Linked DNA regions of Homo sapiens: region 2 is linked to region 1. Evidence: promoter capture Hi-C in human tissues and cell types (Jung and others, 2019). All regions are on one chromosome and are shown on one strand. Each heading gives the region's core, a stretch centred on a gene start or on the middle of the fragment in contact. The rest is flanking DNA. Distances are from core to core; before and after follow the strand shown. Region 1 holds the start of SNRPD1 (small nuclear ribonucleoprotein D1 polypeptide). Region 2 overlaps ESCO1 (establishment of sister chromatid cohesion N-acetyltransferase 1).

Evidence for each region. The method cuts DNA at HindIII sites, captures the fragments that hold promoters and counts their contacts. A contact is called where the count stands out against the background at its distance.
Region 2: a fragment that was not itself captured here is called in contact with the fragment with the promoter of SNRPD1 in region 1 in 6 of the 25 tissues and cell types used here (adrenal gland, aorta, dorsolateral prefrontal cortex and 3 more).

Annotation. Positions count from the first base shown.
Region 1 is chr18:21,608,482-21,614,895 of GRCh38, forward strand. SNRPD1 (small nuclear ribonucleoprotein D1 polypeptide) reads left to right here and starts at 3,833. Exons shown (of 4, transcript NM_006938.4): 1 at 3,833-3,962. The coding sequence starts at 3,949. RefSeq lists a silencer at 3,582-3,631 and an enhancer at 3,892-3,981. The HindIII fragment of the contact is 13,798 bases long and covers 1-6,414 here.
Region 2 is chr18:21,539,862-21,546,275 of GRCh38, forward strand. It overlaps ESCO1 (establishment of sister chromatid cohesion N-acetyltransferase 1), which reads right to left. Exons shown (of 12, transcript NM_052911.3): 9 at 59-148. Among named protein-coding and RNA genes, the nearest start is that of ESCO1, 58 kb to the right of the region's middle. The HindIII fragment of the contact is 5,589 bases long and covers 290-5,878 here.

The DNA.
Region 1 (6,414 bases), core at 2,583-5,082:
ATCCACCTGCCTCGGCCTCCCAAAGTGCTGGGATTACAGGCATGAGCCACTACACCTGGCCTGAGGAGCTGAATTTTTAAATTTTATTTAATTTTTTTCATTTTTGAGATAGGGTCTTCCTGTGCTGCCCTGGCTGGCCTCAAACTCCTGGGCTCCAGTGATTCTCCTGCCTCAGCCTTCCAAGTAGCTGAGACTATAGGCATGCACTGCAGGGCTGGCTATTTAATTCTAAATAGCAACATTCAGGCAGTATTCATTATCTAGGGGCTCATTGATGTCATCACAGGTTTTAGTTTTTTATAAACTCTGTCCTTGGCTGGGCACAGTGGCTCCCTGTAATCCCAGCACTTTGGGAGGCTGAGGTGGGAGGATCAATTTATTCCCAGGAGCCTAAGGCTACAGTGAGCTAGGATCACACCACTGCACCCCAGCCTGGGCAACAGAGCAAGATCCTGTCTAAATGAACAAACAAACAAAGAAACAAACAACACTATGTCCTGAAATTGGTTCTTCTCCTGGTTGTAAGGAAGTTCCCAACAGCTCCAGGGGTTACTCCCTTTCCATTCACAACAAAAGAAAAGAACATTCCCTCTAAAGGTCCAATTGGATCAACTTAGATCCCAAACCTACTGTGAACAAGTAATGGAATGGAGTATTAAAAGGGTAGAGTCAGCTTTCTTAGGACCACAAGGATCACAAGAAGAATATTAGAAACATTTGGAAAGACAAGGGAATAGATGTTGAGAAGGCAACACACAAATATCCGTTTTAGCCTTGCTACTCAAATTGATGTGTATAGAGTAGGGGCAGCTTCATCAACTGAAGGCTTGTTAGAACTGCAGAATTTCAGGCCCCACAACGATTGAATCAGATTTTCATTTTAAAGTTTCCAGGCTGGGCGTGGTGGCTCAAGCCTGAAATCCCAGCACTTTGGGAGGCCAAGGTGGATGGATCATCTGAGGTCAGGAGTTCGAGACCAGCCGAGCTAACATGGTGAAACCCCATTTCTACTAAAAATACAAAAAATTAGCTGGGCGCAGTAGTGAGTGCCTGTAATCCCATCTACTCAGGAGACTTAGGCAGGAGAATCATTTGAACCCAGGAGGCAGAGGTTGCAGTGAGCTGAGATCGTGCCATTGCACTCCGGCTTGGGCAACAAGAGTGAAACTCCATCTCAAAAATAAATAAATAAATAAATAAATAAATATAAAGTTTTGGCCAGGCGTGGCAAGTCAGTCTCAAACAACAAAAAAAGGGCAATATTTATCAAAGTTTAATGTGTGTAGGACTCACCTGGGGAAACTTTATTTTTTTTAATTTTTATTATTATTATTATTTTTTGAGACGGAGTCTTGCTCTGTCGCCCAGGCTGGAGCGCAGTGGCACAATCTCCACTCACTGCAACCTCCGCCTCCCGGGTTCAAGCAATTCTTCTGCCTCAGCCTCCCGAGTAGCTGGGACTCAGCCTCCCAAGTAGCTGGGACTACAGGCATGCGCCACCACGCCCAGCTAATTTTTGTATTTTTAGTGGAGACGAGGTTTCACCATGTTGGCCAGGATGGTCTCGATCTCTTGACCTCATGATCTGCCCATCTCGGCCTCCCAAAGTGCTGAGATTACAGGCATGAGCCACCATGCCCAGCCGATAAGTATTGTCTTACAATATCTAAGAGTTCTGTTGATCAGCGATGAAGTCTAGGCTAGAGATACAAATCAAAGTCATGGTTTTGGAGGAGATTACCAGGTTAAAAGAAAAAGTATACATAAAAAGACTACAGCCACAAGCCGGGAAACACTGTGACATGTATTGGCTCCATAGGGAAGGAGGAACCAGCTAAGGAGATTTAGAAAGAGTAGTTAGAGGCTGGGCATGGAGGCTCTGGGCCTGTAAACCCAGTACTTTGGGAGGCCACGGCAGTGGAATCTCTTGAGCCCAGGAGTTGGATACTAGCCTGGGCAACATAGTAAGACCTCTTCTCTACGAAATAAAAAATAAAATATTAGCTGGGCATGGTGGCACGCACTTGTGGTCCCAGCTACTGAGAAGGCTGAGGCAGGAGGATAGCTTGAGCCCAGACGGTCAAGGCTGCAGTGAGCCCTGATTGTGCCATTGCACTCCTGCCTGGGCAACAGAGCGAGAAACCCTGTCTATAAACAAAACAAAACAAAGCAAGAGTAGTTAGTAGGATAAGGAAAAAGGCCAGGTGAGCTTGGCATCCTGAAACCCGAAAGAGGGAAGGGGAGTGTTTGTGTTAAATTTTGATGAAGCTCACATACTAAAGAGACAATAATGCCGGGCGCGGTGGCTCACGCCTATAATCCCAGCACTTTGGGAGGCCGAGGCGGGCGGATCACGAGGTCAGGAGATCGAAACCATCCTGGCTAACCCCGTCTCTACTAAAAATACAAAAAAATTAGCCGGGCGTGGTGGCTGGCGCCTGTAGTCCCAGCTACTTGGGAGGCCGAGGCAGGAGAATAGCGTGAACCCGGAAGGCGGAGCTTGCAGTGAGCCGAGATCGCGCCACTGCACTACAGCCTGGGCGACAGAGGGAGACTCTGTCTCAAAATACATACATACGTACGTACATACATACATACATAAAAAGACGATAATTAGCGGGCCATGGTGATGCGCGCCTGTAATCTCAGTTACTGGAGAGGCTGAGGCACGAGAATGGCTTGAAACCGGGAGGCAAGGGTTGCAGTGAGCTGAGATCGCGCTACTGCACTCCGGCCTGGGCGACAGAGTGAGACTCCATCTCAAAAAAATAAAAAATATATATATTTTGATGAGATGTTGAGAAAGATGAAGACTGAAAAGTTTGTCTTATAGATTGGAACTTAAAGTGAAAATAATCTGCTACATTGTGGATTTTATTTTTATTATTATTATTTTTTGAGACGGAGTCTCGCTCTGTTGCCAGGCTGGAGTGCAGTGGCACGATCTCAGCTCACTGCAACCTCCACCTCCTGGGTTCAAGCGATTCTCCTGCCTCAGCCTCCCGAATAGCTGGGACTACAGGCGCGCATCACCACGCCCCGCTAATTTTTGTATTTTTAGTAGAGGCGGGGTTTCACCATGTTGGCCAGAATGGTCTCGATCTCTTGACCTCGCTATCTGCCCGCCTCGGCCTCCCAAAGTGCTGGAATTACAGGCTTGAGCCACAGCGCCTGGCCCATTGTGTGATTTGCTTCAGGTACAGTAAGCAATGCTAGGTTCCTGGTGTTGGAACAGAATCAGCATAAGACTTTGGGCTTCTCTAAGACCTTCTTTCCGTTCAGTGAGGAATTTGTATTAGGTGCTGCACTCACAGTGCCCTGCTGTTCAGAAACGTGATGGTGACAGTACTTTTTTTTTTTTTTTTTTTTTTTGGGAGACGGAGTTTCGTTCTTGTTGCCCAGGCAGGAGTGTAGTGGTGCGATCTCCGCTCACTGCAGCCTCCGCCTCCCGGGTTCAAGCGATTCCCCTGCCTCAGCCTTCCGAGTAGCTGGGATTACATGCGCCCGCCACCACGCCCAGCTAATTTTTTGTCTTTTTAGTAGAGACGGGGGTTTCACCCTGTTGGCCAGGCTGGTCTTGAACTCCTGACCTCAGGTGATACCCCCGCTTCGGCCTCCCAAAATGCGACAGTCCTATTAATTGGATTTAATCTCTTCGAATCTCCCTCTCTTGTAGGACATTTTTCTCCAAGACCAGCCCTCGATACCCTCAGCCGTCGCAAGGCAACCTCCAGCCGCCAGGGGCCGCAGTCGCGCTCCTCGCGGCCGGAAGAGAGTGCGGCCCAGCGCAGCCTCGGCGTTTCCGCCATGCGCCTGCAGTGCTCCGCGCGCTCTTGACGTCCGGAGCCCCTGGAGTAGGCGCTTCCGGCCATTCATACTGCAGTCGGTCAGTGTTCGGTTGAAGGATTCTGTGTGCTGTCGGACCCAGAGGGTGACGGCGCCGCTAGGATGAAGCTCGTGAGGTGAGGGAGTGACCAAGCAGCTCTGGGGGCTGTGAAGGGAGGGCTTGGCCCGGAGTCCGGAAGGCTGGGCTCTCCCATTTGCAGGAGGCGGGAAAGCCGCGTGTGCGCGGCCTGCTAACGGCCGGCCTTACTGCGCCCGCAGCTCGTGCTCGGGCCTGGGCTTCCGCCTGGGTCGCTCGCGGATCCCGCGTGTCTTCCAAGAGATTGGTATAAAGGCCGAGCCTTTTCTTCCTGCCTAGTGACTTAGAGGCTTTAAAGATGCAGCGCCTCCTGGGACACATCTCCCTCTTACAGTTACTCATTTTCTTTTTGAGTGGAACTCCCCAGTCCTGCTTAACAGTACTTAGAAAGCTGTATGAGCTTATCTGGAAACAAACCTGTTTGCAAAATATTTTAAATCAGAGAAGGACTTCCGGCTTCACAAGTTTTTGTTTTTTTAAATAAAGATGGTGTCTCACTTTGTTGACCAGGCTGGTCTCGAACTCCTGGGCTCAAGCTTTCTGCCCGCCTCGCCCTTCCAAAGGGCTGAGATTACAGGTTTGAGCCACCGTGCCCGGCCGATTTTTAAGTTTACCTTTTTATCCTCCTTAGATTTGTGATTGATTATTCCACCTCTATTTCCCTTTAAGGTAGGCTTTTTATTTAGGAAAATCTCCCAATATAGGGCAGAAATTATCACAACGTAATTGTGGCTGATTACTCAGATAATATATAGTTCTCCTGTTTTATTTCTTAAGAAATAAATAGACCCTGTCAGTTAGGTGAGTCTTCTGAAAACTTGTTTGCTGATGTGAATAATTCTAAACTACCTGCAAGTAGATTTGGTTTTGGTGTTTTTCCTTGAGACTAAGCCTGGAACAGAGGCAGACGTTTCTAATAGCTAAGCCAGCAATTATAAATATTTAGCTTGTTTTTTTCCTGTTGAGTCAAGGATTGTCAATATCCGCTAAATAGTTATTGGGCACCTGTTACATACTAGGCGCTGGTAATAGGATTTTTTAAAAGGCAGAGTACCTGCCTTGTTGGAGTTTTCTGGTTAGTGGGGATGACAGACAAGTAGATAACGTCTGAAGTAACGTTTGTTTGAAACGTTTTAAATAACACATAAAAGCCTTCAACACTCAGGGAGGAGGCCAGGCGCAGTGGCTCACGTCTGTAATCCCAGCACTTTGGGAGGCCAAGGCGGGTGGATCACTAGGTCAGGAGTTCGAGACCAGCCTGACCAACATGGTGAAACCCCGTCTCTACGAAAATTACAAAAGTTAGTGGGGCGTGGTGGCGCGCGCCTTTAATCCCAGCTACTCAGGAGGCTGAGGCAGGAGAATCGCTTGAACCCAGGCGGCAGAGGTTGCAGTGAGCCGATATCGTGGCACTACGCTCCAGCCTGGGCGACAGAGCGAGACTCCATCTCAAAAAAAAAAAAAAAAAAAAAAAATTATATTCAGGGAGGAGTTGGTACAAAAGACATTTAAGGTTAATTTTTGGTATATTTTTATTTGAACTATAACTTTGGATAGGAAGTCATAGAATTTAAAGTGCATTTTTTAGGCTGGACGTGGTGGCTCACGCCTGTAATCCCAACACTTTGGGAGGCTGAGGCAGGCGGATCGCCTGAGGTCAGGAGTTCAGGACCTGCCTGGCCAACGTGGTGAAACCCATTCTTTCGAAAAAATACAAAAATTAGCCGGGCATGGTGGCGGGCGCCTGTAATCCCAGCTACTCAGGAGGCTGAGGTAAGAGGATCACTTGATCCTGGGAGGTTGCAGTGAGCTGAGATCGCACCACTGCACTCCAGCCTGGGCAACAGAGTGAGACTCGGTCTCAAAAAAAGAAAATTACATTTTTTGAAATTTCTCCATACCTGCCAATCTGAATCTTAATCCACTCATAGTTCAATTTTGTGTAATACACCTTGGATTCCATTTGTTCCCTTTAAAGATACTGCATGTTATGACAATTTTCCAGTAATTTTTAATACCTGTACTGAATCCTGTTTTGTGTCTTAGGTAAAATATAGAAACAAATTTTTTTTCTTACCAGAGAATGTATTTTTCCTCCAGAAAATGATTGTTTGACTAACTGGTTTGCATTTTCAGTAGATTTATTTCTGTATCTCAGTTGGCAGCATTGTCATCCTTATTCTCACTGTCACCCTAACCAAAAACCTGGGAGGTGAGCTTGACTTTTTCTCTCCTGATGTCCTTGACATTTGATACATTGCCAATTTTGCCAGTTTTACCTACTTCATAAAAGTGACCCACATTATCCTGTTTGGTTTTTGGGTTCAAATAGTGTGTTTTATACTGAGGGACACTGTGTTACTATTTGATATCCAAGTTTCACTAAGTGGAAAGAATTCAGACAGTGAAAGATTCATCTGAAAATAATTTGAATCCATTTGGTTCCTGGGCTCAGTTAGGGAGGGATAATTGTGTATTTGTCCTGCCCATAG
Region 2 (6,414 bases), core at 1,834-4,333, 69 kb before region 1:
AAAAATTAACTGCAAAATGATATTATCCACTCTACATGAAGTTTCACTGGAAATTTACCTTTTTCAGGGCATACTTTGGGTCTTCAGGAAGAACCATTATTATCCTGCCATCAGGGTATTCAGCCAGAATTCTTTCTTTCTTCCAGCCCTAGATATATATATATATATATACACACATATGTAAAGTATGAATTTTATGTATATTCTATTCATTATATCCACGTACAAGATAAAAAGTACATCAATTTGTCTAAAAATTGCAAACATGAAAAATATATGCTCATTAATGCTTAATAAAGCATGATAAATCGGCTATTTTGTTAAGCATACAATAGGTACAAGGCAAGCTAATTTCTCTCTACTACTCATTCAGAGATATATCTAATACCACAAGAGTATTTCTAATTTATCATTTCCCGTTTTAAATTAATTTTGAAAGCCACACACCAAAAGCAAGCCCCTTAAAGTCAGTAATTCCCAGAAACTATAACTCTCCCAGATTCTTGATAAAAGAATTAAACTCTTATATTTCATTGGAACATGGTTACCTCCACAAACAAACACTCCAAGTTTTATGTCTGGCATGCCAAAGACCTCCAGGAGGTTTTAAATGAACTGATTTGCATGCAGTAGCCCAGTATGAAAGGAATAGTCTTATGCTTATTGATCACAACTACCAAAGCCACAAGAAGGAGACTATAAAAAATATAACTACCTTCTAAGAATCTAATAGGGAAGGAGAAGCTACGTTGTGTGTATCTGAAGTTAAACATACTCAAAAAAAGAGAGGTAATAAACTCTTCTTCAGATCCACACTCGTGGTGATTAATGAGCAGAACCTGCATAAAAAAACAAAACAAAACAAAAGCCACTTAAATCTAGTAAGATGGGACTGAACCAGAGGTTAAAACTAGGAGCTTTGAAGTTCAAAATAAGTACAGAAGGAATGAGCTTAACTAGTTGTTCCAGTTGTCTTAACCCAACCAACTTTACATAAAAAGGCCTTTCCAGAAGCCATTTATACTTCTAGTAGAGAAAACCACCATATTTTTTCTGATGTTTCTTCTAAGAACACAAAAAGCTCAATGAAACCAAGAAAATGGCAACTAGATTTCTTTAAAAATATACTATGGCAAGTGTGAAAGCAGATTCGTTTTCTTAAACCATCAGGAATTTTTTGGAGGGGGAAGGTAGAAAGATCATAGTTGGGAACAAAAATTCTAGGTAATAAGCTTGGTATATGTAACAATTTAAATTAAAATATTTAAAATCCAAAATTTGTTTACATAATAGAGTACCCAAGTTAAAATTCAGATGATTAAAATTATGATTGGTAAAATGTTCTCAAGATTTGAAAAGAAAGGAGCAGAAACAATAGCCACAGAAGTCCTTTTTTCATCTAAGAAACTAAATCTGTAGTTCTTCAACGTAAATAAGGTTTTAAAAAAGAAACTTAAGGCCGGGTGCAGTGGCTCACGCCTGTAATCCCAGCACTTTGGGAGGAGGGCAGATCACAAGGTCAGGAGATTGAGACCATCCTGGAAACCCCGAATCTACTAAAATACAAAAAATTATTGTATTTTTAGGCGGGTGTGGTGGCACGCGCCTGTAGTTCTGGCTACTCAGGAGGCTGAGGCAGGAGAATTGCTTGAACTCGGGAGGTGGAGGTTGCAGTGAGCTGAGTTCGCGCCATTGCACTCCAGCCTGGGTGACAGAGCGAGACACTGTCCCAAAAAAAAAAAAAAAAAAAGAAAGAAAGTAAATCTGAATCATATAGAGATCTGAATATAGGTAAACAATTTTTAGAAGATTTACAAGACATCACCTCTTTAAAAACAAATTTCTATTACTAATGTTACTTTATGAAAAAGCTTTTAAATTTATGAACCTATTTTTAATAAAATGAAAAGAGATTTTCACTTTAAAACATCGAAAAGACCTAAAAATGTAAGTAACCTCAAGTTATAAGAAAACCATTCTTCCTGAACTGAATCATCTAAAGACAGTTCCATAAACTATTTTCCTATTAAATGCCTTTGAAAACAGTAATACTGGTTTCATGTCATTATATTGCATTATAGACATTAGACAAATTATTTTGCTTTACTAATTTTTGAGTGCAAAACTTTCTCTTGAAACAACTTCAGACTTGTATGTTCATGCCGAAATTTTTATCACAATTCCATTTGATATAATTTTATGTTTTAAATAGTACCTTTTTTTCATGTACTAAATAAAAGCCCTTTAAGAAGCAAAGGCTGCAAAAGGATACTTAGTATTGCTTAGATTTCTAATGTTCATGAAAACAGCAAGTTTTATTTATTAATGTAATTTACTTATTTGAGACAGAGTCTCACTCTGTCACCCAGGCTGGAGTGCAGTGGCAAGATCACAGCTCACAGCAGCTTCAAACTCCTGGGGCTCAAGCAATCCTCTTGCTTCAGCCTCCCAAGTAGCTGGGACTACAGGCGTGCACCACCATGCCAAGCTAAGAAAGCATATTTCAGTGAAAACTTTTAAGTAACTCTAGAGTAAAAGTTCAGGGTTTAGATCCTTGTTCTTGGTAGTTACTAGATGCATGGCCTTAGGCAAATCACTGGAACTCTGATTCTGTTTCCTGATCTTAGCATTCTAAAAAATGGCTATCATCACCTCCATCACTTGGGTAGGTACGAGGGTGCTGTATTTAAGATGACTGCTCAAAGAGTAGCCACTAAGTAACTCTTAGCAACTTCCATTCTCCCTTCTTACTAGTATCAAACTAAGATCAATGCACTAATCTAACAAAACAGTCAATCAATAAATGTTCCCAAGGGTAAATACAGCAATAAATTCAAATCATAGGCAAATAAAAGATGAAAGAAACAAGTTAGCTAATATTTGTTCAAATAACATACTCAAGACATATCTATGCCTCAACTACAGTTAACTGCTAGTCACAATAACCACATGACCCTCCTTACTTCAGAGAAACTTAGAGGCGATAAAGTCCATCCAATGCTTAAAATTAAGGCAGAGGAGAAGCAGGGTTCAGGAAAGAGTGCATGCAATTTAGAAGAATAATCAAATAGCCACAACGTTTTTGCAAAGAAATAAATTCCAATGCAGTGCACTTACACTTCTGACCTTTAGCTCCAACATATTTCAGGACTAGTATGTTACACATAACCCTCTGCTAACAAGTAGTATTTTCCAAAACCCATTTTTTCTTACTTCATCCATTTCTGCTTCATGAAAAGCAGAAAACTTTATATTCCTAATTTGTATTTCTAACAGCAAGAAATTATTATTATTTTATTTATTTTTTTTTTTGAGACAGTTTCAATCTTGTTGCCCAGGCTGGAGTGCAATGGCGCAATCTCGGCTCACTGCAACCTCCGCCTCCCGGGTTCAAGCAATTCTCCTGCCTCAGCCTCCCGAGTAGTTGGGATCACAGGCATGTGCCACCACGCCGAGCTGATTTTTTTTGTATTTTTAGTAGAAACAGGGTTTCTCCATGTTGGTCAGGCTGGTTTCGAACTCCCGACCTCAGGTGATCCGCCAGCCTTGGCCTTCCAAAGTGTTGGGATTAAGAAATTATTACTCTTTTCTCCTTGCTATTGGAGTTACTCTAAACTGTACAGTCTAAAGAATGGATTTCTCCTTTTTCCATCAAAAAAAGGATTACAATTGGAAACAAAATACACTGAGTGGTAAATACACTGAGTATATACAATGATCAAAATTCAAACCAAACACTTAAGATGTGTAGATTTAATTGTATAAATAATACCCCGACTTTAAAAGTTCACATTAATCACAATTTCATGAAAAGGTTGAATGAGAATATACATTTGAAGGAATATTTGAAGAAATAAAACCAACAACCAGCTTTTCAAAAAATAAACAAATATTACAAGGGAAAAAAACAGAACCAGGGAGAACTTTGGGATTAAAAGATACTAAAGGGACATAACAACCAATGTAATATATAAACCCTAATTCAAACAAATAAGCAACATAGGAAATCATGAGCTATTTGGGAAGCTTTGAACTCTGATAGAAAACTTGATTTCAACAATTAATTCATTTATTGAAGGTGTAGTTATATTCTTTAAGGTACTTTTATGTTTAAAAAAGGAATAATCTTTGGCCAAGCGCAGTGGCTCACACCTGCAATCCCAGCACTTTGAGAGGCTGAGGAAGGCGGATCACAAGGTCAGGAGATCGAGACCATCCTGGCTAACACGGTGAAACCCTGTCTCTACTAAAAATACAAAAAAATTAGCTGGGTGTGGTGGTGCACGCCTGTAGTCCCAGCTACTTGGGAGGCTGAGGCAGGAGAATTGCTTGAACCCAGGGGACAGAGGTTGCAGTGAGCCGAGATCGCGCCACTGCACTCCAGCCTGGGCGACAGAGCGAGACTCCAACTCAAAACAAACAAAAAAGGAGTAATCTTCATCTTTAAGCAATACATATTTAGAGGTGGGGCATGGTGGCTCACACCTGTAATCCCAGCACTTTTGGGGGCCAAGGCAGGCGGATTACCTGAGGTCAGAAGTTCGAGACCAGCCTGGCTAACCTGGTGAAACCTCGTTTCTACTAAAAATACAAAAAAAAAACAAAAAAAAAACAAAAACTAGACAAGCGTGGTGGCATGCACCTGTAATCCCAGCTACTTGGGAGGCTGAGGCAGGAGAATCACTTGAACCCAGGAGGTGGAGGTTGCAGTGAGCCAAGATCATGCCATTGCACTGCAGCTTGGGCAACAAGAGTGAAACTCCATCTCAAAAAAAAAAAAAAGAAGTACATACTTAGAAATATCTACTAAAGTAATAACATGATGCCTAAGTTTACTTCAAAATAATTGGGAAAGTTAGATGATTATCCATGAATTGTTGAAGGTAGGTGATCAGTACAAAGGGGTTCATTACTCTGTGTGTGTGTGCTGTATTAAACTTGTTTTGGAAAATTCAAATTGCCTATTGTCAAAACTGTACCAATGGCCCAAGGTTTGTTCAAGTATTTAGAAGTAAAAAATAAATGCAAAACTAATCTAGTCAGCGTTGCAGCCAGACCCGAAGTGCAGTAAAGTAGTGACTGTAACAGGAGCAGCTAGACCTGAAGTGTGATAAAGCAGTGACTGTAATAGGATCACAAAGGAGTTTTGGAGGTGCCAGTAATGTTGCTTCTTCTTACATGGGTGTGTTCACTTTGTGAAAATACACCATTATTAAGCTGTGTACTCGCTGTGTACTTTCTTTTTCTTTTTTTGGTTCAGATGGGGTCTCACTATGTTGCCAAGGCTGGTCTCAAAGTGCTGGGCTCAAGCCATCCTCCCACCTCAGCCTCCTTAAGAATTGGGATTACAGATGTGAGACACCATGTCTAGCCTGTGTACTTTCTTTACATGTTATAAGTCAGTAAAAATTTTACTTAAAAACAATTACTGGACAGGTGCGGTGGCTCATGCCTGTAATCCCAGCACTTTGGGAGGCCAAGGTGGGAAGATCGCCTGAGGTCAGGAGTTCGAGATCAAACTGGCCAACATGGCAAACCCCGTCTCTACTAAAAATACAAAAATTAGCCAGGCTTGGTGGCGGGCACCTGTAATCCCAGCTACTCAGGAGGCTGAGGCAGGAGAATCCCCTGAACCTGGGAGGCAGAGGCTGCAGCGAGCCGAGATCACACCATTGCACTCCAGCCCGGTTAACAGAGCAAGACACCGTCTCAAAAAAAAAAAAAAAATTTACTAAAGGAATTAGAAAAATAGGCATTTCAATAGTAATTTAAAAAGTTAAGTTGAGGCCGGGCGCAGTGGCTCACACTTGTAATCCCAGCACTTTGGGAGGCTGAGGCGGGTGGATCTCCTGAGGTCAGGAGTTCGAGACCAGCCTGGCCAACATGGCGAAACCCCATGTCTACTAAAAATACAAAAAATTAGCTGAGCATGTGGCGCACGCCTGTAATCCCAGCTACTCGGGGGGGCTGAGGCAGGAGGATCACCTGAACCCAGGAGGCGGAGGCTGCAGTGAGCAGAGATCATGTCACTGCACTCCAGCCTGGGTGACAAGAGCGAAACTCCATCTCAAAAACAAAAAAAACCCAATACTGGTAAAGATGTGTGTCTAATCCATATGGCCATATTGAACTTCAAAGTGTTTAAAAGTCTTAGATATTACTACTAGTTTGAAAGTGACATACACATGGAAAAATTCTCTCAATTCAGTAAATTTGTACTGACTACCTACCATGTATACAAACCATTATCTTGGCAGTATAGCATAGTGGTAAGGAGGATTTCAAAAATCAGAAAAACCTAAAATTCGAATGCAAACTCTGCTACTCACTAGCTGCCCTGCTTTGGGCAAATTACTTAACCTCTCTAAAACTTGGTTTCCTCACCTATAAAACAGATACAAAAACAGGCCTGGT